Linked DNA regions of Homo sapiens: all the other regions are linked to region 2. Evidence: promoter capture Hi-C in 16 types of primary human blood cells and fetal thymus (Javierre and others, 2016). All regions are on one chromosome and are shown on one strand. The core of a region is centred on a gene start or on the middle of the fragment in contact, and the rest is flanking DNA. Distances in the headings are between cores, read along the strand shown.

Region 1 (2,725 bases), core at 79-2,578, 1.6 Mb before region 2:
TGGTATAGGTGCTGGGTACTGCAAAAGACAGGTAATGCATCCACATTAATAGCTATTTTTTTCAAGTTCTTGTAAATAATATACCTTATTAGTCAACAAAAAAAGCTATTATTGTATAGTTTTCTGAAGCTTGGCCATGACTTTTAACATTGTCCTTCAGAATGACTAGTTTTTAGTATAAAATTATCTTATGTTTTTATATTAGGTTTTGTTCAGCAAAATCTTCTGTTTTAGACTCTTAATTTTCCAATACTTTTAACTATACAGTTTTTTCTTCTTCTTCTTCTTCTTCTTCTTCTTCTTCCTCTTCCTCTTCCTCTTCCTCTTCCTCTTCTTCCTCCTCTTCTTCCTCCTCTTCTTCCTCTTCTTCCTCCTCTTCTTCCTCCTCTTCTTCCTCCTCTTCTTCTTCTTCTTCTTCTTCTTCTTCTTCTTCTTCTTCTTCATCATCATCATCATTTTGAGACAGAGTCTCCCTCTGTTGCCCAGGCTGGAGTGCAGTGGTGCAATCTCTGCTCACTGCAAGCTCCACCTCCCAGGTTCACGCCATTCTCCTACCTCAGCCTCCCGAGCAGCTGGGACTACAGGCTCCCGCCATCACGCCCTGCTAATTTTTTTGTATTTTTAGTAGACATGGGGTTTCACCGTGTTAGCCAGGATGGTCTCAATCTCCTGACCTCGTGATCCGCCCGCCTCAGCCTCCCAAAGTGCTGGAATTACAGGCGTGAGCCACCATGCCCGGCTTACAGTTTTTTCTTTCTCAATTGGACTAGCAGACATTTATTAAGCTTGACTGTGTGTTTAATACCTGCTGAGTACTGTGTTAAATATCAAGAAAAATATACAATAGGTTCTTCCCCACAGGAACTTATGGTCATTTTTGAGAGACCTGTACATGCATGTCATTCACGAAACCTGAAAATGGTATAAAAGAGTGTAAAATCTAGTGGTAAATTGTTTGATACTCACCATGATTCAAAGGGTGGAAGTTGGGATGCCCTTGCTTATATAGAGAAAGCTTCCTGGGAGAGATATCTTATAATGAGTATTTAAGGAAAGATAAAATTTGGAGTGATGGAGATCATTTTAAATTAAAGGAAAGCAATACTAGATATATATGGGGCTGCTTTCCTTTGTAAGCATATCATTTTGTGGGGGTTAAGGAAGAGAAAAGGGAACTAAAGTTTAGAGTGTACTCACTATATGCTAGGTCCTACATGGCAGAGTGAGTTGTCGGCCTCTCTTTTTTGATCTTTACAACAACTCTAAGATATAGGTATTATTACTCCCATTTTGCAGATGAAGAAAGGGAGGCTTGCATCAATCAAGTAATACACAAGTAAGTGGCTTAGATATAATTTAAACCCAGGTTGATATGACTAGATAAGACCAAGTAAAGGTCTTTGCTCTATTGCACTAAGTTGAGCAAAGATACCTCGGGAAATGGAGATAAAAAAGCAAATAAACAATATGGTCCCACCTGTTGGAGGACTTTACGAGTAAGTTGATTTGTTTGCATTCAATTCTAAGAACAATAGAAGATCTTTACACTATTCATACCTGTAAAATATTTAGAAAATTCTGTGGGTAATAAGAAAGAGTATTAAAATGAAAAGTAGGCTGGGCGCGGTGGCTGAAGCTTGTAATCCCAGGACTTTGGAAGGCCAAGGCAGGCGGATCACGAAGTCAGGAGTTCGAGACCAGCTTGACCAATATGGTGAAACTCCGTCTCTACTAAAAATACAAAAATTAGCTGGGTGTGGTGGTATGCATCTGTAATCCCAGCTACTTAGGAGGCTGAGGCAGGAGAATCACTTGAACCTGGGAGGTGGAGGTAGCACTCCAGCCTGGGCAACAGAGCGAGACTCTGTCTCAAAAAAAAAAAAAGTAAATGTCTTCTTTTTTCTTCTAGTCCCCATATTCCCTTTTTCAGGGGTTACTTATTTCTCGTGACCCTTTCCAGAGATTATCTATGCCTATATATTTGTGTGTGTGTGTGTGTGTGTGAGAGAGAGTGTGTGTGTGCGTGTGTGTGTTTGTATGCATTCTTTTTTTTTCTTCTACAAAGTAGTTGCTGAATAAAGACTAGAACCCATATCTCTTGATCCCTAGGCCAGTATTTTTCTCTTGATAAAAAACTAGGTAAGTAAAATGGAACTATATGGAAAAGAGACTTAAATGTTTAAGGTTTAGGCTGATTTGAGTGTTTTAGGATGACAGGAGTATCACCAGCATGGGTCTTAAGTATTTAGGAGTAAAACAGCATTTGAATTTTGTTTTAATTTTAGAATTGCTAGATCCTACATTCCAGTTTCAGCTTTACCATTTTTCTTATTTATATGTCTTTAGGTATCAACCTGGACAAAGCAATATCAAGCTGCAGCTCATCAGGACATCCCTGCCATGCAACAGCTATCGGAGTGGCTAATGAAGAACTTGCCCGATAATGACAATGAAGAGAATTTGATTCATGGAGATTTCAGACTAGATAACATAGTTTTCCACCCTAAAGAGGTACAGTTAGCTATGTTTACAATTAATTGAGTAGGTCTGTTTTGTGACACAGTACTAAGTAAATGCTCCCCCCAGAGCACTGAGGGAGCCCAACCCACTCCCTGTTCCCCTACAGCTCAGGACTGTCGTCACCACTCAAAATTTTTAGAAAGGAGTCCTGCAGATTTTCCAGCATAAGTTAGCTGCCTACCTTTGAGACTGGTTCTAATCCCAA
Region 2 (2,891 bases), core at 271-2,770:
TTTTTAAGGATGGTCAATGGGCTTTACGTGGTGGTGTCCGTCAACCACAAAAACTACTAGGGCAATTAACCACAAAAATCCTCAAAACAGAACATAAGTAAATGCCCATTTACAACATTTTCCTTCTTAAAATGTATGAATCAGTTAAGTTGTACCTAATACCAGTGAGATTAGTTACCAGCTTTTTCTTTTCCCTTCCAAAGACACGTTAGTAAAATCTGCTGGAAAAACAACTACAGAGCAGGCCTCTAAATATACCTTTTGTTTTTACTTCCCCTTCACTGTCATAAAAGTGATGCCGTCTGGCCATACTAAGCTGTTCAAATAAATATATGGACTTACAGACTTTCCAGCTGAAAAGGGTCCTTCAGGTCACTCAGTAATTCTCCTTATTTTAAAGATGAGATTAAGGTTCCTTTTAGAGAAGGACAGAATTAGGGACGGACAGAATGAGAAGTTCACTTCTAGCGGCTCTTATTTTAAAGGACAGTCTAAACCCAGCAGTGCTTAAGTAGTCTGGTCCAGGCTGCAGAAGACTCTGGGACTAGGTTCCCTCCCGCCCACCCTCACAGACTCAGCCCTGCCACCCCCATCCCAGTCCACTTTTAGGTCATCCATTCCATTAGTCTCCTCTGCGCAACCATAAACCTACCCAAGAATGTGTCGCATTGTCTAGATTCTAGAACTATCTGTTCACTTGACAACACGCTCCCCCTCGAGGTTTGAGTGAACTTGGGCACTGCGAACACATCTTCTTTATTTCTGCATCCCCAATCCCTGGCATACCTCCTGGCATATACTAGGTGTTTAACAAACCTTGTTAAGGCAAGTAAGTGTCCAGCAGATCAACTGCCGCCCAAAGGAGAGAAAAAAGGTTAGTTAAGAAAGCTAGATGGGAACTTGGAGAAAGTTACTACCTTGTGCAAACTACCCGTTCTCGGTGAAACAGATCTGGCTGGGGGCAAAAGACAACGGAAGGAGTATTTATCACAAGTTGAAAACCAGTAGTTATCTTCCCAGGTAATAAGAGGAAGGCAATTTGTCACCAGTTTCTGCTACAGCACAAATCTACCTTTAAAGTAAATCTTAACCTTAAGGTAAAACGAACAATTCCTTGCTTCTTCACCTTTTTAAACATTTACATTTTGGCAAAGCAGGTTAACGTTTATTGAGGGGCACTGAGACTGGAGTACATCCGGAGGTAAGATGTCCAGGAAAGCGAGGAGATCGCAGCCATGGCGTCCTAGAGATTCGGAACCCAGCCCGGGCAGCTTGAAACCATTACCTTCCCCCTCGCAGGGGAGCCTGGCTAGCCCCAAGGAGGACAGTTCGCTTTACCTTTCCCTGTCGTGGTCGGAGCGGCGCCCGGGGCTGCCCAAGTCTTGCGGGTAATCGGGCAGGCCTCAAACTAGGGGCAACCACACCCACCGAGCGCCAGACACCGCGGGCCACGGCTGTTTGGAACCGTGGCCAGGGAGACGGCGCGGGGCATACTGGGAAGTCGGGGCGAGGCGGCACCAAGGCGGAAGTGTTCGCCGACCCAAGTAGGCGGAGAAAGCAGAGGAGGACCGGCGGGCCAAGCTTTCCTAGCCTGACAGCAGCCATTTCGGAACGTACGTCCCAGCCCTCTTTAGCTACTTAGCGCCTCTGGGCCCGAGAACACCTGCTCCTTGGCTCAGTCTGGCGCCACCGGCATCACGGAACTGTACTTCCCAGAGACGTCACACCGGGAGACTTCCGATTCCCGCTCTTGAGATTGGACTCTCACGTGCAGGAGCCAGTCCTCGCTGGGCTCTAGCGGGCTTCTGATGGAGGAGCTACTCCTCTGGGAGGACAGAGTAGGTGGGCTCTGCTGCAGGTCCGGGCGGCGGGTTGTGAGGGCCGAGGTGGCACGGTGTATGAAGGCCTGTGTTTGAAGACTTAGGTCAGACCTTTTGCCCGCCTTTCCCCTATGCAGCTCTATGCAACTGTCTGTGCAAGGTCCTGTAATTTGCGTAGGACGCCTTGACACAGTCTCTGCTTATGGACGCTTTACAAAACTATCTTGCAAAGAAATAAGTACTATACAGGATAAGGTTCTGAGATACTGACAGGGCTGGAACTAGGGTGAGATAAGTGTAAAATGTAAATGGATGCCAATAAAATTCAGTAATCAAGGTAAGTTTTAATGCAATCTCTAAAAATCAAAATTATAGCAAAAAAAATCCATGACTGACAAAATGTCACGATTTTAAGTAATAGTAACAGTACCGTGCTGTGCCATATTGAAGCCCGAGGTGTCAAAAGAAAAACCATCAATTCTGATCCTGCGAGTTAAGTTAGCCAGGTGAGGAAGCGTAGCTGGGCCAGATATGCAAAATAAGATGATGAAAAGAGCTCGTGGTTAGGGGTGTAACTGGATAGAGGGGTTCCTAGAGGCATGAAGCAGTTTTCCTTATACCAAAAACTATGCCAATTAAGAAGGGCCCACAAATCCAAAGCCTGAAAGAAGTTCCGTGACTGATTGTCAATACAAAAGAAAAACTTGATCCTTATCATAGGTCCTACACACCTTACTTTACTGAAGCCCAAATGCTTTGTGATTATGAGATGAATATGATATCTTTTTTTTAGCTTAGGACTTTTTACTTTGACCCCACAAAACAAATACTCTGTGCTGTAAGATGTTGACTATTACCACTTAAGAATCAAAGTTCACAGAACTTCTATACTGGTGTGTCAGTAATGGACTTCAACTGATTTTTCTTTAGAATTAGCAGCAGCCTCTGTCACCATCCAAAGATTACAACCCATGAAACCATTGAATTTGTGCCTTGTATCAGAAAGCAAAGGAGAATGAAAAAGCACAGCTAACATTGCTTGAGGATCTAGGTAAGAATTTATGATGTTGA
Region 3 (2,700 bases), core at 135-2,634, 1.4 Mb before region 2:
CACCTCAGTTTTCTCATTTTGGGAGATTAGCTGAATTAATTCATGCTTATCTCTGAATGAGCACAATGTTAAGTACCCAATGTTAGCTGTTATTAGTAAGATGAGTAAATTAGGACTCCTATCCTTCCCTCTACTTCTTTCCCTACTCTTCTGTATGCACTGTTCTCCCATCCTAACAACTTTTGTTAGCTTTGGTCATCTCTTCTGTAATCATAATTAATCCTTGCATGCTTTATTCATTGGTTGAATCTAAAATCAAAAATATCAATGCACAGTATTTCTATTGTGATTGTGTTAACATTGTTTACTATCCTATGATTTCAAAGTGTCTTATTTTATTTTTTATTGTATGCCTTCATCAAACACTAAGATGATGTATCTGCCTTAAACATATTCCATCTTTGATAAGTGATGTAATATAATTGTTGAAGACGGATTTCCCAGAACCATCTGACTTCTTATTACAATCTGAACCAGCTGCTCTCTGGGCTGGATGCCAAGCTGTCATCCTGAGTTTTTTTCCACCCAAGTCCTGGGTTGGAGTCAGTGTTCTGGGATCTCAAGTTTTTACGTTTCTTGGACTTAATTCTTGTTCTGGCTGGAGAACATCTTCAAGTAATTTTCTTGAAAGGGTGCATGATAAATCAACTTGATGAATTTTTACATGCTGGAAAGTGACCTCAATTTTTCCCTCTCACTTTCTCACTTGATTGATATTTTTACTGAGTGTGGAATGTTAGGTCCATAATTATTTTTCTCAGAAAGTTGAAGTTATAGCATCTAGGTATTCTAATAAGAAATTACATTCTTTTTTCTTTGTAGGACATAGTGGTCCCCCTCTAGAATCTTTCACAATGCTCTCCATGCCCAAAGTGTTCTGAAATTTCTTGAAAATGTTCTGCGTTTGGGTCTTTTTTTAAAAAAAAAATTCATCTTGTGGTCATGGTTACACTCATGTATACAAGTGGTAAACATTATTCAAAAAAACTGCATGTTGAATTGAATTGTACCATCAGGAAGAAGAAATCCTATAATGCTTAAAGCCTGTGCCACAACATTCAACGTTAGATTGTACCATTATGTATGGTTTCTCTAATTGTTTTATGTGTATATATGTTTAATGTCTTGAACTTCATCCTAAGCAGGAAATACATTTTTTTCTCATCTCAGTCTGTCCCTGTCAGTCTTTCAGAAGACCAAAAGTGGTAATTTTGTGCATTAAGAATACCCTGGACTGAATGGTGCTCTCAAGAGGCCAGGAAGATTATCTGTGTAGGAAGGAGAAAGGAGATAAACTAAGTGACTTCAAGTAACTTGGAAAAATTTCTAGCCCACTGTACCCAGGATTTGTGTCCTTTCAGAAGGGGCCATTCATTATTTTCTTTTGGCTTGTGGGAGGGAGAATGCATGTTTTTCCATCCTGGGAAACTTGCTTCATAGTCTGACTTCATGGCCAGACCTGCTTGAAGTCAACCAGTTACTAAAGGGCATCCATGTACCTGTGTAATTTTGTAGATGTTGCATGTCAGCTTCATTGAGGTCATTGAAACTGGGCCCAGAGGAGACGCAATTTACTTTTATAATAAGGAAGTTAAGATGTAGCAAGAGACTAAAGAGAGTTGGAAAGATATCTGCCACCTACATTCAATATTTTTTTCTGTTTGACATTATTCTATTTTGTTATTAATAAGATAACAAATCTTTGTAAAACAAACCCTTTCCTTGTTTCTTTCTTTCTACAATATCTACTTTCAGATTAAATTGGTAATAACTTAATCTGGCTCTCCTGTAGAATCTGTCTTTACAATTTTAATGGTTTTTATTTTTTAAGCGCTCTATTACATTTGACCTTGTTTTGAAATCTGTTTCTTTTGTTTTGTTGGGGGAGAATGCTGAGAATGTTGTATTCCCTTAGAAAGAAATCCTCAATCATAGTAACAGTTTTAATAAGATCACATATCTGCCTGTTGTTCTACCAAATGAAATTTCCATCACTTTAACAATAGTTGTCATTTCAAGATGTGTGTAAGAAGATTGAAGAAAACCCCTGATATGATTTGACTCTGTGTCCCCATCCAAACAGCAGGTTCCCCTCATGCTGTTCTCATGATAGTGAGTGAGTTCTCACAAGATCTGATGGTTTTGTAAGGGGTTTCCCCCTTCACTCAGCTCTCGTTCTCTCTCCTACCACCCTATGAAGAGGTGCATTCTGCCATGGTTGTAAGTTTCCTGAGGCCTCCCCAGCCATGTGGGACTGTGAGTCAATTAAACCTCTTTTCTTTATAAATTAGCCAGTCTCAGATATTTCTTTATTTTTTTTTGCATTAGTTGAAACATAAAAACTAGTTTAATAGCTTATTTTAAAAGTAACATTGCAGTACATGATAATCATTATATGAAATAATTACATGTTTATAATATAATGATTTTCTTATGATCATTTTCTTATAATGACTGAATGCTAAAGACACAGTAACTGAAAAAACTTACCTATTATACTCCCTTTGACTTAGTATTTAGCATTGAATACAAAAGTTCCAATAGCTTCCATGTAATTAGGGAAAAAATTTACAAATGCATAAAATAGAAACCAAGGTGAATTCTCATGCTGGCAATCAAATAAAGGCTTTTTACTTAATCCAAATGAAAAAGTCCCTTCCTCAAATTATAGAAACTAAATATTACAAAGTATAAAATTAT
Region 4 (2,700 bases), core at 156-2,655, 1.3 Mb before region 2:
TTAAGTTGATAGCCAATAGCCTGTGGCTTAATCAATCATGCCTATGCAATGAAATCTCCATAAAAAGCCCAAAGGGAGAGGGTTCAGAGAGCCTTCAGAGAGCTGAACACTTAGAGGTTCCTGGAATGTGGTGGTCCTGAAGAAGGCAGGCAAGCTCCTTGACCTTTTCCTTATATCTTTTGTAATATCCTTTGTAATAACCAATAACTGTGTTTCCCTGAGTTCTGTGAGCTGCCCCTGCAAACTGATCGAACCCAAAGAGGAAGTTGTGGGAACCCCAACTTAAAGCCAGCCTGTCAGAAGTTTGGAGGTCTGGACTTTCATCTGTGTCTGAGGTGGCGGGTTGGGGGTGGCCAGTTTTGGGGCCTGAGCCCTCAACCTGTAGGATCTGATGCTATCTCCAAATAGATGGTGTCAAAACTGAATTGGAGGCCACCCAGCTGGTGTCTACTGCAGAACGGGCTGCCTTTTCTTGCAGAGAGATCCCCCATATTTGGTCACAGAAGTCTTCTGTCTGTGTTGATTGGTGTTTTCAAGTGAGAAAAATAGGAAAAAACACATTGAGTGTGTTTTTTTTCACACACAAAATATCACAGACAGAAATGTTAAAATACATAGAAAAAAGCTTCTAAAAACTTATAGCAAAAGGAAAATCAATCATCCAAAAGAAAAATAGTCAAGGGATATTGATATAAAAGGAAATATAAATGGCATTTAACTGATGAGAATACACGGACACATAGAGGGGAAGAAGACACACTGGGGCCTCTTGGAAGGTGAAGGGTGGGAGGAGGCAAAGGGTCAGGAAAAATAACCAATGAGTACTAGGCTTTATACCTGGGTGATGAAATAATCTGTACAACAAACCCCCATGACACATGTTTACCTATATAACAAACCTGCATTTGTACCCCTGAACTTAAAATAAAAGTTAAAAAAGAAATACAATATCAAAAAACAAACCAAAAAATGGTATTTAACTAGATGAAGATACCCAAACTCACTCATCACAAGAAGAAAAGTACTATAGCACGATGTTGTACAGTAGTTATAATAGTGAGCTTCCTTGTCTTATTCCTAATTTTAGAGGAGATGGATGCTTCTAGTGATATTATTTTCCACTTACCAGATTGGCAAATATCCCCAGAGTGGTCCACATACTGTTGGCAAAGTTGTGGAGAAATGGGCATTTGCATGCAGTGCTGATAGAAGTAGAAAGTAGTAAAACCTCTTTGGAGGGTAAATTAATAATATTTCAGATTAACCCAGAATGTCTACTTCTAGGATATTATCCCACAGGTATTCTTGTGAAACTATTTAGATGCACAAGTTATTCATACATGCTGTTTGTAAAAATGAAAGATTGAAAAATGACCCATATTCCTATCAATAGGGGCTGGTTAAATAAATTATGGCATAAATATAAATATTACACATTTGTTAAAAAAAAGGAAAAGAAAGAAAAGGAGGAAACTCTTTACATACAGATATAGAAATATTTCCAATATATTTTCTTAAATGGAAAAAAAAAAACAAAACAAAACCAAGGTGCCCAACCCTATGAATAGTATACCATTTTCGTGTAACAAAAGAAGAAACTATCAGAATATATTTTTATGTTTGTATATGCATAAGGAAATTGGAAGACTGCATAAAATACTACATAAAATACATAAAAGACTGCATAAAATAAACACATAAAAGACTACTAGAAAATAATGCTAGTGGTTACCTGTGGGGTCATGGAGGCTTCCACTGTATTCCTTTTTATATTTTCTAATTTTTGGACAGTATGAATGTATAATATTCAAAAGATTATTTTAAAAAGTACACAGCATTATATCTACCTTTTGTATTGTGCTGAAAATGGGTACTTTGCAAAATAGAAACAAAAAAAAAAGACTATCCTTTGTATATGAAGACAATAATCCCAGCCCCTTAGCCTGAATAAGGCAGGTGATTTTAGACTTATATTTATTCTCATCCAGCCATTTACTCACACCTGGTTCCTCTCAAGGCCATGAGTAAAGGATTCAAAAGGACTGGCTTGTCTATTGGCTTGTGACCCCTGTATGGGGAAGGGAAGCAGGAGTGATGACCTCCCTCATTAAATATTCTAACCCATTGCTGTAACCAGCCACTGACAGATGCATTCGTCCCATCTTTTTAAGAAGCCAAAGCTTCATCTTGTGTCTTGGCCCTCACACTCAAGTACCACTAACAAACTAACAAGTACCACTAAACAAAACTAGCTTTTAACCTTATAAGGGTGCAGCCTCTTCTGGAATTCCTCTGATTTCAAAGTCTCACTCTCAAGTTCTTGAAAACGAGGGCAGTTCCTGAAAGGCAGGTATAGCAACTGAGGATAAGAGAAAAATCATAAAACTGTTATGAGTCAGAAAAACTTTGCTAAATATGCTGCAGCAATATTTTAAGCCTCATTAGGTTCAAAGCAACCTTAATAAAAGATTCAAATGTGTTTTGAGCTGAGTGGAAATTCCAAAATTGGGGAGAAAGAATCAAATGATCTATAGGTCTTAAAATAGTAGGATATGTATTCAGAATTGAAAATCCTTTTTTTTCATTCATAAACTTGCCATAATATAACTGAGCTGTTGGTGGTAAATATTTACACTTCTCGATCTTCCACGTGAATAACTGTTATCTTGCTTCCTTCCCAATCACTTTCATTTCTTGCAG
Region 5 (2,700 bases), core at 126-2,625, 1.6 Mb before region 2:
CAGTCTTGGTAATGTCGAATGGTTTGAGATGTTAAGGAGCACCCGAATATCTCAGAATAGAGCTAACCCCGCTCTCCCCCGCCCCGACCCCATTTAAGATGCATTGATAAGCCTTTAATGAAACTCAAAGTTTACCTTAGCAGGTTTAATATTTGATCTCATCTTCTGAAAGTTCTTACTATCAGTCTTATACACAGCGAGGCGGACTAATTAAGAGGCAAGGGTGATAGGAAACTGGACACACGTCCTCAGCAGGCACAGGAGCAGCACCATATGGCTGACTCACTGGAGGTTTTTAAAAAAGAGAAAGAATATCTTCCGATCAGTACTAAGATGTGGCCTTGCCCATTTGGGAACAGGATTCGCAGACCAAGAAAAGGGTGGCGGGCGTCCCCATGAGCGGGACGTGGGAAGCGCCTCACTTCTGACCTCACGGAGCCTGACCTCGTCCCCCGCGCCTGCCTCCGACCGGCGACGCAGGTTACCTGTAGGGATTCGAATCCACCACCTCTGAGCTCATCTTCTCGATGCGGACCCGGCCGCCCCCTCCGTCGCCGCTCCTCGGGACCTGCAGACTCCTCTCCTGGGCAAGTTCCCGCTCCAGCTCCTGGACCCGCTGCTGCAGGCGCTCCACAGACTCCGCCATGGCTGGGACTCCGGCCGCCAACGCTCCCAGCCCGGGCCTTCGCCGCCGCCTTCGCCCCACGTTGCTCGGCTGGGCCCGCGAGGGGTACGTGGGGAGGCACCTCGCCGCTGCCTTCCTAGCCCAGAGCCCTGGGGACGTGCACCCAGCGCCTCACAGACAGACACGTCTCCGAGACTCCCACAGGCCTTCCTCGGAGCCGCTTCCGGTGCGTCGCAGACATCGCTCCCCCTCATCAAAAACCTGGCTCTTTCGGCTTCCTTCCTCGCTGGGCCGGCTAAACCCGGCCGCAGCAGCACCGGGGTGATAAGTGTCCAGGGCAGGAGGCCAGCGATGTTGCCTTGCTAACCGGGTATCTAAGAGAAACAGGGTCTTTTTATTCTTAGGCTCGACAGTCTGACGGCCCTTTTTCTGAACGGGACCCTGCAGGTCTTCCGCCTGCTGTTGCATTAAATTTGGGGGTGGAAGAGGCTTCTGCGTTGTTCCTTACCCGCAACGATGACCATGGCTTTGCCTTCTTTAAAATTGAGGCCTCCAACTCTGACGCTGACTGGAGAATTGAAACCCGAACACACATTGGGCTCTTTTGGCACTTGACTAGAGCTAAAACCTCGGGATTCAGCGGGCAAGCGTTGCTCAGCAACGGCGCGTAGGCTGTGTGCGGTTGGCTGGAGCCAGACCCCACCCCGGCCTCGGCCCATGCTCTAGAGGGGACGTTGCCCCAATCCTGAAGGACTTCGGCACTCGAGACCTGTGGATGCCGCGTTGCTGTGGCCTGCGGGGGTGATCATGAAGCCAGGTGCTACTGGCGAGTCCGATTTGGCCGAAGTGCTGCCCCAGCACAAGTTCGACAGCAAGTCCCTGGAGGCCTACCTAAACCAGCACTTGTCTGGCTTTGGGGCCGAACGTGAGGCTACGCTGACCATTGCCCAGTACAGGTATGGATGTCAGCCTTTGCCTCCAGCGGAAAAAAATTTGTACATTGAGTTTTCCTTCCTTTGGCCCTGGGTGGTTTCCTAAGTTTCTCCCACCCTGATTGCTTTTCCTGCAGTCAGTGGACGCACCCTACAGGCATGAGCTGCTATTGCCGGCCCTCCGAATTCGATGCTGGGGGCTTCCCAATTGGAGGGCGGTAATGGAAGCGCAATAACGTTCACCATTCTACTATCCAAAGGAATCTTTGTTAAAGGATGGATTTATGTCCCTTGAGGATTCACCAAGGCAATTAAGGCTACAAATTCTGAGAAATAGATGCCTTCTTTTGTGATACAGCCATTAGATCTTTTTCTGAGAAGCTGGTGTAATTCCGTTTGATTGGCCGTATTCCGGGAGGCTGAGTTAATGACACCAGATGGAGGATCCGAATTCGAGTACTAGCTTTTCCACTTAGGAGGTCACAGCACCACTTTGGGCCTCAGGTTTTTTGAAGTGAGGTAATGGAACTGAGTGAGAGGATCCTGAGAGTAGCGTTCCCCACCGGGAATCTGGCTTTAGTCTGATGTTTTACAATAGATAATACATTCTTAAAACTTTATTCTAAAAATAACATTGTTACTAATACAGGGCTACAGAAAGAGTCCTATCATTCAGAAAACTGGATCTGTCACTTGCTGTCTGGGAGTTTAAATATGTTACATAAACACTCTGAGAACTAGTTTCCTAAGTTGTAATACCTATTTTGATTAGTCTTATTAATGAAATGAAATACCGTAATATAGGTGAAAGGGCGTAAAAATTGCAACAACATAGTGTGCTAGTGGTATTTTATCACTAGCATTTATATTCTTTGACTACTGATTTTGGTGAAAATGAAAATAATAATAAATGAGATGGATCAGGGAACATTTTAGGGTGTAGAATTTAAAGGTCCCATGTCCCAATAGATATTGGAAGATGAAGGGAAAGGTGGAATAAAGAATAGCTGAGATTTCTAGGCTAGAAGCCTTGTGTTGTAACAAACTGAAACAGATCAAAGTTCAAATTTCAACTATTTCAATTGCTGTGGAATTTGGACAAGTTACCCTTTGAACATCTAGTCCTGCTTTGGCAAAAAGGAG
Region 6 (2,897 bases), core at 24-2,523, 1.3 Mb before region 2:
TGTTTATGGCCAATGATTGGGTCTCTACAGTATAATCACTTTTGAGGCTCATTCATAGCTTCTCTCTCTTATTTATAAATAAACTGAGTTCCAGGCTTCTGACTTCTGAGCTCAGCCACAAGGAAGCCATGCTAGGTATGCAGGGCTGGACATGTATTCAGTTAGCAAATATTGATTGAAGGCACAAGGTTCTAGGCGTTGTCTACTGGCTGAACACTCAAAGAGGAAACATGTATGGATCCTGCCTTTAAGAAGCTCAAGGTTGAATCTTGGGCATGTGTATTTGTGCTGTAGATTCTCAGCTTTAGAAAGATAATGAGAGAAAACTGGGACTTCTCACTAGTAAGTCTCCTTCTTGTGAAATAATTAGAGTTGGACATTGAGATGGGGGTGGGAGAGCACTAGTGAAGAAAGTCTGAATGTGTTAGTAAAATGTTGGAATTAAAGAAGCAGTTTGACAAATTTTATTATTTTCAAGCAATGTGCTATGGCCTTAGACTTGTGAATTTTCCAGCAAAGACTCTGGTGAATTTAATTGATACGATCTGGAATCTGGTTAAGTGAGCCTACTGGCACTAGCTAAAAACACTGCTTATAGTTATGGATAGAATTTAATGGGTGGAAACCCCTACTCTAAGGAGTAGGGTTGCAAAGTATCTTGCATATATAGGACATATCCTATATTTAATGATTTTGTCCTGCTTCCTGTATCGGCTTTTTCAGAACATCCTAAGTGTCCTGTATTGTTTTTTTTTTTTTTTCCAATGAATTACAAAAACTTGGCAGTTACAGCCTTTTGTCAAATTTATCTCGGCATCCTGTACTTTTATTTGCTAGATTTGGTGGCCAAACTAATGAGCCACTCAACCCCTACAATCTTCCATGTTTCAGCCTTCTCTGTAGTATCTCTCTTCTAAGGTGAGTGGCCACCCAGCCTAATGGGCACTTCTTACCTCAGGAGTTTCCCAACACTGAACGAAAATCTGTCTCCCTGAAATTTTTACCTGCTGCCCCTAGCATCCCTCTTTAAGATCATACTGAATAAATCTAATCCTTTTCTTTACAGAAGTTCAAATATTGAACTCACTGTATTAGAGGCCACCTCATGTCACAGACTCTTAACAAACTTTCTATGAGCCCAAACCAGTGGTGTGGTGGTAGGATTTGTAGCATTTAATTTCTTTGGTGAAAATACTCCTGCCACATTGGAGCTGCCCAGGTGAAGTGGTTGAACTGAGAGTTGGGAACTGATGGACACATTCCACTCTTGAGATCTGTATGAGCGGGCTGCAGCACATCAACCCTTACATTTTTCTTTCTATTAACATTTTTTGCTGCTTAATCATATTTCACTCTACCTGCATATTGTTATTTGTGTTTTGAGGGAAAGAATTCTGCAAACATACCACAGGTAGATTTACAAGAGGAGGTGAGAGACTATGGAGAATGAAGGAGAGGGTAGGGTAAAAAATAACTCCTAAGTTACCAGGTATTGCTGCTCATCAAGATAGACAAGAGTAGGGTCAGGGGAAAAGGTAACAAATTTATTTATTTATTTATTTATTTATTTAGACAGAGTCTCGCTCTGTTGCCCAGGCTGGAGTGCAGTGGCGCGATCTCGGCTCACTGCAAGTTCCGCTTCCCGGGTTCACGCCATTCTCCTGCCTCAGCCTCCCGAGTAGCTGGGACTACAGGTGCCCGCCACCATGCCCGGCTTTTTGTATTTTTAGTAGAGATGGGGTTTCACCGTGTTAGCCAGGATGGTCTCAATCTCCTGACCTTGTGATCCGCCCACCTTGGCCTCCCAAAGTGCTGGGATTACAGGCCTGAGCCACCTCGCCTGGCCTCAAACTGATTTTACGTGGTACAGTTGCTACCTTCTGCAGAAAGCCTTTCCTGACCTTCCTTACTTCCCCTACTCCAAATCTGGATAACTCTTGTTCCCACAGTAATCTGTGTAGTCATAAGACATAGCCCTGGTTTTTCCATGTTGTACAGTATGTATCTCTTTACTTCCCTAGTATATTGTGCACTTCCTGAGGGTGTTTCCTTAGCAAATTCCATCTTAAATAGATGAGGCAGAGCCATCCACAGCTTCACCTTTATCTGAAGTGGTAAAGTCCAAACTATATTTTCAATGTAAAATGTTCATTTAAGCCAGTCAAATCATTTTACTTTATATTAATATTTTCCATCTTGTTATACTAAAACAAAAACCCCAAACACAAAGGGAGCTCCTGAAATCTGCCTAGAGGAATTTTATTCTAATTAAACACACACACATACGTTTTTCTAAGTTCATTATAAAAGCAATGCTTTTGAACTTCCTAATAATGACTTTATTCACTATTTTACATTTGGCTCACTGCTAGAAGACAGTTACAAGCATAGAAAATGGACCCAAGGACAAACATTTACTTGGGAGGGAAATAACACAAAGAAGCATATCAATCGATGTCTTTGTCAGTCATTCTGTGACCAACCAGGAGCGGGGATGGCTTTGCTCTAGATTCTGGCAGCCAGTAGAAACCATCTCTAGAAACCATCTCATCTTTATCCATAATGGTAATAGAGCACAGTGTTCTCTAGACATGTAGATCTGCCACATGGCAAAGCTATATCATGATTTCTTCTTGCAGAGTGGGCAGTTTCAGCAGGACCTGTAAGTTTGCTTAGGTTTTCTGAAGATATCGGCATTAAAGACTTACACATTCCTTTTGTCCTCCTAACGTATTTCGTAACCACACTCTCAACATTCCAATAAGTTTTGAACTTGGAGGCACTTAGAACATAATTACATTTCTAATTTTGTTTCAGTTTGATATGTGTCCCTTCCTTCCTTTTTTTGGTAGAGACAGTGTCTCACTATGTTGACCAGGCTGGTCTTGAACACACCA
Region 7 (2,700 bases), core at 32-2,531, 1.4 Mb before region 2:
TGCCTTTTCTGATCAAACTCTCCTACAACAGAAACAATGCTACATTCCAAAACCACACTTAAAATGTAGCAGACATTCACATCATAGGAACTAATTTATGAACGTAATACTTCCTACAGCTATATCTTACCAAAAAGGGAGGGGTAGTAAGGAGAACCATGGAAAGACTAACCCTTTGAAAAAATAACTAATAAGAGTAATAGATAGAATATCTTATATTGGCTTCTTGAGGATCTAGGTTTGTTTGTAACTGGATTCAAAATCTGAGTAAATCATAGCACTAGATTAGTTTGGTTTCAAACAAATGGTAAAAAATATGAATGGCTAACAGAATGTTCATTTTTACCCAGATTAAATAGCTACAACTAAACTGTTTAGATAGAATGTGCTGTGTATGGGGGAAACTGCCATATGAACTTTAACCCTATTTTTAAATTTTAGCTTCATTTTAATATATGACTCAAGTACAGGTAAAAGCATTTTCTTCTAAATGAACAACAAATCAGTATGTGTAATATGTATGATACCAACAGGAATCTTAAAACAAACCATAAATACATCACAAAGATTTTAGTACCTACCATCTTAGCCTTCCTTAACTTACTGAAGAACCCGATACCTCCAGAGATAGATGTCGTTGAAGAATAAAAAAAGCCAGCGGTAATATCAAATTTCATCTGATAATCATATCTTCAAATAATTGCCCAGATATTTTAAAGTGAAGTGATTGTACTGTCACATCATAATCAACTTTTAACTAGTTTCACTACCATAGGGTAGCTGAAATAATATGAGATCTCCACCATTGTTTTTAAAAACTTGATTCCTTTCTATTACAAACTGAGTATATATTAATGAAATACAGGGCAAGAAAAATTCAAAAGCAACCCCTAAATCTGAAGAAACACTTAATGGGAGGAGGGGACAAGCATACTTACCATAGCAGTTACTTTTTTTGACCTCTTCTATTCAACAGTATAAATCAAGTATTGAAAAGAGACCTGTCTCTTCTATTTCTATCACATGTATGCTCATTTCATCTGAGGGGAATAATTTGTATTTCTGACAAAACAGAAGTTTATCTGTTGTTAAAAAAATTCAAATTTTCTGTGAAAGATGTATTACTATGACCCTTCCCTTTCCAAAGCTTAAAAATGCCTTAAAATACTCACCTGAAAGCTTTCTTTCCAGAAACATGTTCACTTAAGCAATGCTTTGAAATCATTGCTATTGATCATTTACATATTTTTAGTTTATACACATTATTGTAACTTTATAGACCTAATTTCTATTTCATTTTATCTTTGAAGCATAACCTGGCTTATGCAAGAACAAACTATACTATTTCTGTAAGGTCTTCAGCTTATCAACTTATTAAGCTTATCAGCTTATTAAGGCACTTAATAATCATGCTCTACTATGGTAAACAGGCCCTGAAATGGGCAAAAGAAATTTTTAGCAGCCATATTTTAACTTGTTGCTGTTTTTCCTATCATTACAGTAAATGCATAATGCGGGACTAAATTTCCTAAGCTTTTAACACATACAACTTGAAGACAGTTTTACAGAAAGCATCCTGAAAACCCAAACACTGTTCTTTTTATACTATTAAAAGACAAAAGTTTAATTTGCTACAATTTCCCCTTCACTCAATACAAAATAGCAAAAACATACATTTCTAGTTTAGTTCTGAAATATCCCTATTATTCCTACCTCTTCTGTGGCGCTTTACAGTTTATAGAACACTACCAAATTATCTTAAAAAAGCAAAGTTTCACTTTTAAAATTAAGCCCATTAGTGCTAAGATTTGGGGGGAAAATGGCTTATCTGCTCTAAGATTTGATAAACATTCAAAATACATTCTGTAGCTTGACTAGAAGTTTGAGGAGAGAAACCCCATAGCCTTAGATGACTAAGGAATACAATAAAAGTGAGAACACCATGTATAAGCGTTTAAATGTATTACAGAATACATGAAATATTAGAGAACATCTCCTCCATTCATAACCTCACCAACCCTTCCATTAAGTTGTGGCAACTAGAGCTGGCAAAAATCAAAGCGTCGAAATAATTTTTTTTAAGAGACAGGGTCTTCCTTTGTCACCCAGACTGAAACGCAGCAACACAATCATAGCTCACTGTAATCTCAGTCTCCTGGGTTCAAGCAATCCTCCTGCCTCAGCCTCCCGAGCACACGTCACCACAGCCAGCTAGTTATTTCATTTTTTGATGAGACGGGGTTGCTCAAGCTAGGTTGGAGCTCCTGGCCTCGAGTGATCCTCCCGCCTCAGCCTTCCAAGTGCTGGGATTACACGTGTGATTATTGTGCACCCAGCTAAAATAATTCTGGATTGCTTTAGGGGTTTTGTTTTCTATCTGATAATCAAAATATCAAACTCTTATTAATCCATTGCAAAGAGATATTACCACTGGGCATGTGCTAAATATGTGACTAGGCAGTGTTCTTCTAAGGGCAACTTGAGTGCTTAAACTGTAAAATTCCACTGACTTTAAAGCTCACTCTTTTTCACAAGTAGTCCATGAAAGTACAAGTAAAACTCCCATATGTCGACTATTGAATAAAGAGCATCTGAAAAGAATTACTAGCAAGCTATATGGTTTTATTGACTGAACCACACCTAAATGTACCTTTGCACAGGTAACTATCTTAAATTAGCAAAGATGATCATAACCATGTT

The links. Contacts are between HindIII fragments. The CHiCAGO score rates a contact against its expected background, and 5 or more counts as called.
Region 1: a contact is called between a fragment that was not itself captured here and the fragment with the promoter of ASTE1 in region 2, in 1 of 17 cell types (total B cells). The highest score is 6.3, in total B cells.
Region 3: a contact is called between a fragment that was not itself captured here and the fragment with the promoter of ASTE1 in region 2, in 2 of 17 cell types (total B cells and naive B cells). The highest score is 6.9, in total B cells.
Region 4: a contact is called between a fragment that was not itself captured here and the fragment with the promoter of ASTE1 in region 2, in 3 of 17 cell types (total B cells, naive B cells and total CD4 T cells). The highest score is 14.6, in total B cells.
Region 5: a contact is called between the fragment with the promoter of ACAD11 here and the fragment with the promoter of ASTE1 in region 2, in 1 of 17 cell types (naive CD8 T cells). The highest score is 5.4, in naive CD8 T cells.
Region 6: a contact is called between a fragment that was not itself captured here and the fragment with the promoter of ASTE1 in region 2, in 2 of 17 cell types (naive B cells and total B cells). The highest score is 6.6, in naive B cells.
Region 7: a fragment that was not itself captured here is called in contact with the fragment with the promoter of ASTE1 in region 2 in 1 of 17 cell types (total B cells); the score reaches 7.0 in total B cells.

What each region holds. Positions count from the first base shown.
Region 1 is chr3:132,639,278-132,642,002 of GRCh38, reverse strand. It overlaps ACAD11 (acyl-CoA dehydrogenase family member 11), which reads left to right. Exons shown (of 20, transcript NM_032169.5): 4 at 1-31; 5 at 2,347-2,511. NPHP3-ACAD11 (NPHP3-ACAD11 readthrough (NMD candidate)) reads left to right here. Exons shown (of 45, transcript NR_037804.1): 29 at 1-31; 30 at 2,347-2,511. Among named protein-coding and RNA genes, the nearest start is that of ACAD11, 19 kb to the left of the region's middle. RefSeq lists a silencer at 553-743. The HindIII fragment of the contact is 621 bases long and covers 1,018-1,638 here.
Region 2 is chr3:131,025,454-131,028,344 of GRCh38, reverse strand. It overlaps ASTE1 (asteroid structure-specific endonuclease 1), which reads left to right and starts at 1,520. Exons shown (of 6, transcript NM_014065.4): 1 at 1,520-1,838; 2 at 2,751-2,871. NEK11 (NIMA related kinase 11) reads right to left here and starts at 1,468. Exons shown (of 18, transcript NM_024800.5): 1 at 1,339-1,468; 2 at 343-415. RefSeq lists enhancers at 1,159-1,348, 1,429-1,488, 1,629-1,868. The HindIII fragment of the contact is 10,416 bases long and covers 1-1,583 here.
Region 3 is chr3:132,392,314-132,395,013 of GRCh38, reverse strand. No RefSeq gene overlaps it. Among named protein-coding and RNA genes, the nearest start is that of DNAJC13, 24 kb to the left of the region's middle. The HindIII fragment of the contact is 9,134 bases long and covers 1-2,700 here.
Region 4 is chr3:132,337,115-132,339,814 of GRCh38, reverse strand. ACP3 (acid phosphatase 3) reads right to left here. Exons shown (of 10, transcript NM_001099.5): 5 at 2,261-2,359. Among named protein-coding and RNA genes, the nearest start is that of ACP3, 21 kb to the right of the region's middle. The HindIII fragment of the contact is 1,555 bases long and covers 628-2,182 here.
Region 5 is chr3:132,658,484-132,661,183 of GRCh38, reverse strand. It overlaps ACAD11 (acyl-CoA dehydrogenase family member 11), which reads left to right and starts at 1,375. Exons shown (of 20, transcript NM_032169.5): 1 at 1,375-1,581. The coding sequence starts at 1,433. It overlaps UBA5 (ubiquitin like modifier activating enzyme 5), which reads right to left and starts at 855. Exons shown (of 12, transcript NM_024818.6): 1 at 486-855. The coding sequence starts at 646. All of the region lies in intron 26 of NPHP3-ACAD11 (NPHP3-ACAD11 readthrough (NMD candidate)), which reads left to right. RefSeq lists enhancers at 260-539, 910-999, 535-1,073. The HindIII fragment of the contact is 2,892 bases long and covers 1-2,700 here.
Region 6 is chr3:132,358,180-132,361,076 of GRCh38, reverse strand. ACP3 (acid phosphatase 3) reads right to left here. Exons shown (of 10, transcript NM_001099.5): 10 at 2,236-2,897. Among named protein-coding and RNA genes, the nearest start is that of ACP3, 42 kb to the right of the region's middle. The HindIII fragment of the contact is 5,322 bases long and covers 1-2,897 here.
Region 7 is chr3:132,422,661-132,425,360 of GRCh38, reverse strand. The region is part of intron 1 of DNAJC13 (DnaJ heat shock protein family (Hsp40) member C13); the gene reads right to left. Among named protein-coding and RNA genes, the nearest start is that of DNAJC13, 6.5 kb to the right of the region's middle. The HindIII fragment of the contact is 200 bases long and covers 1,182-1,381 here.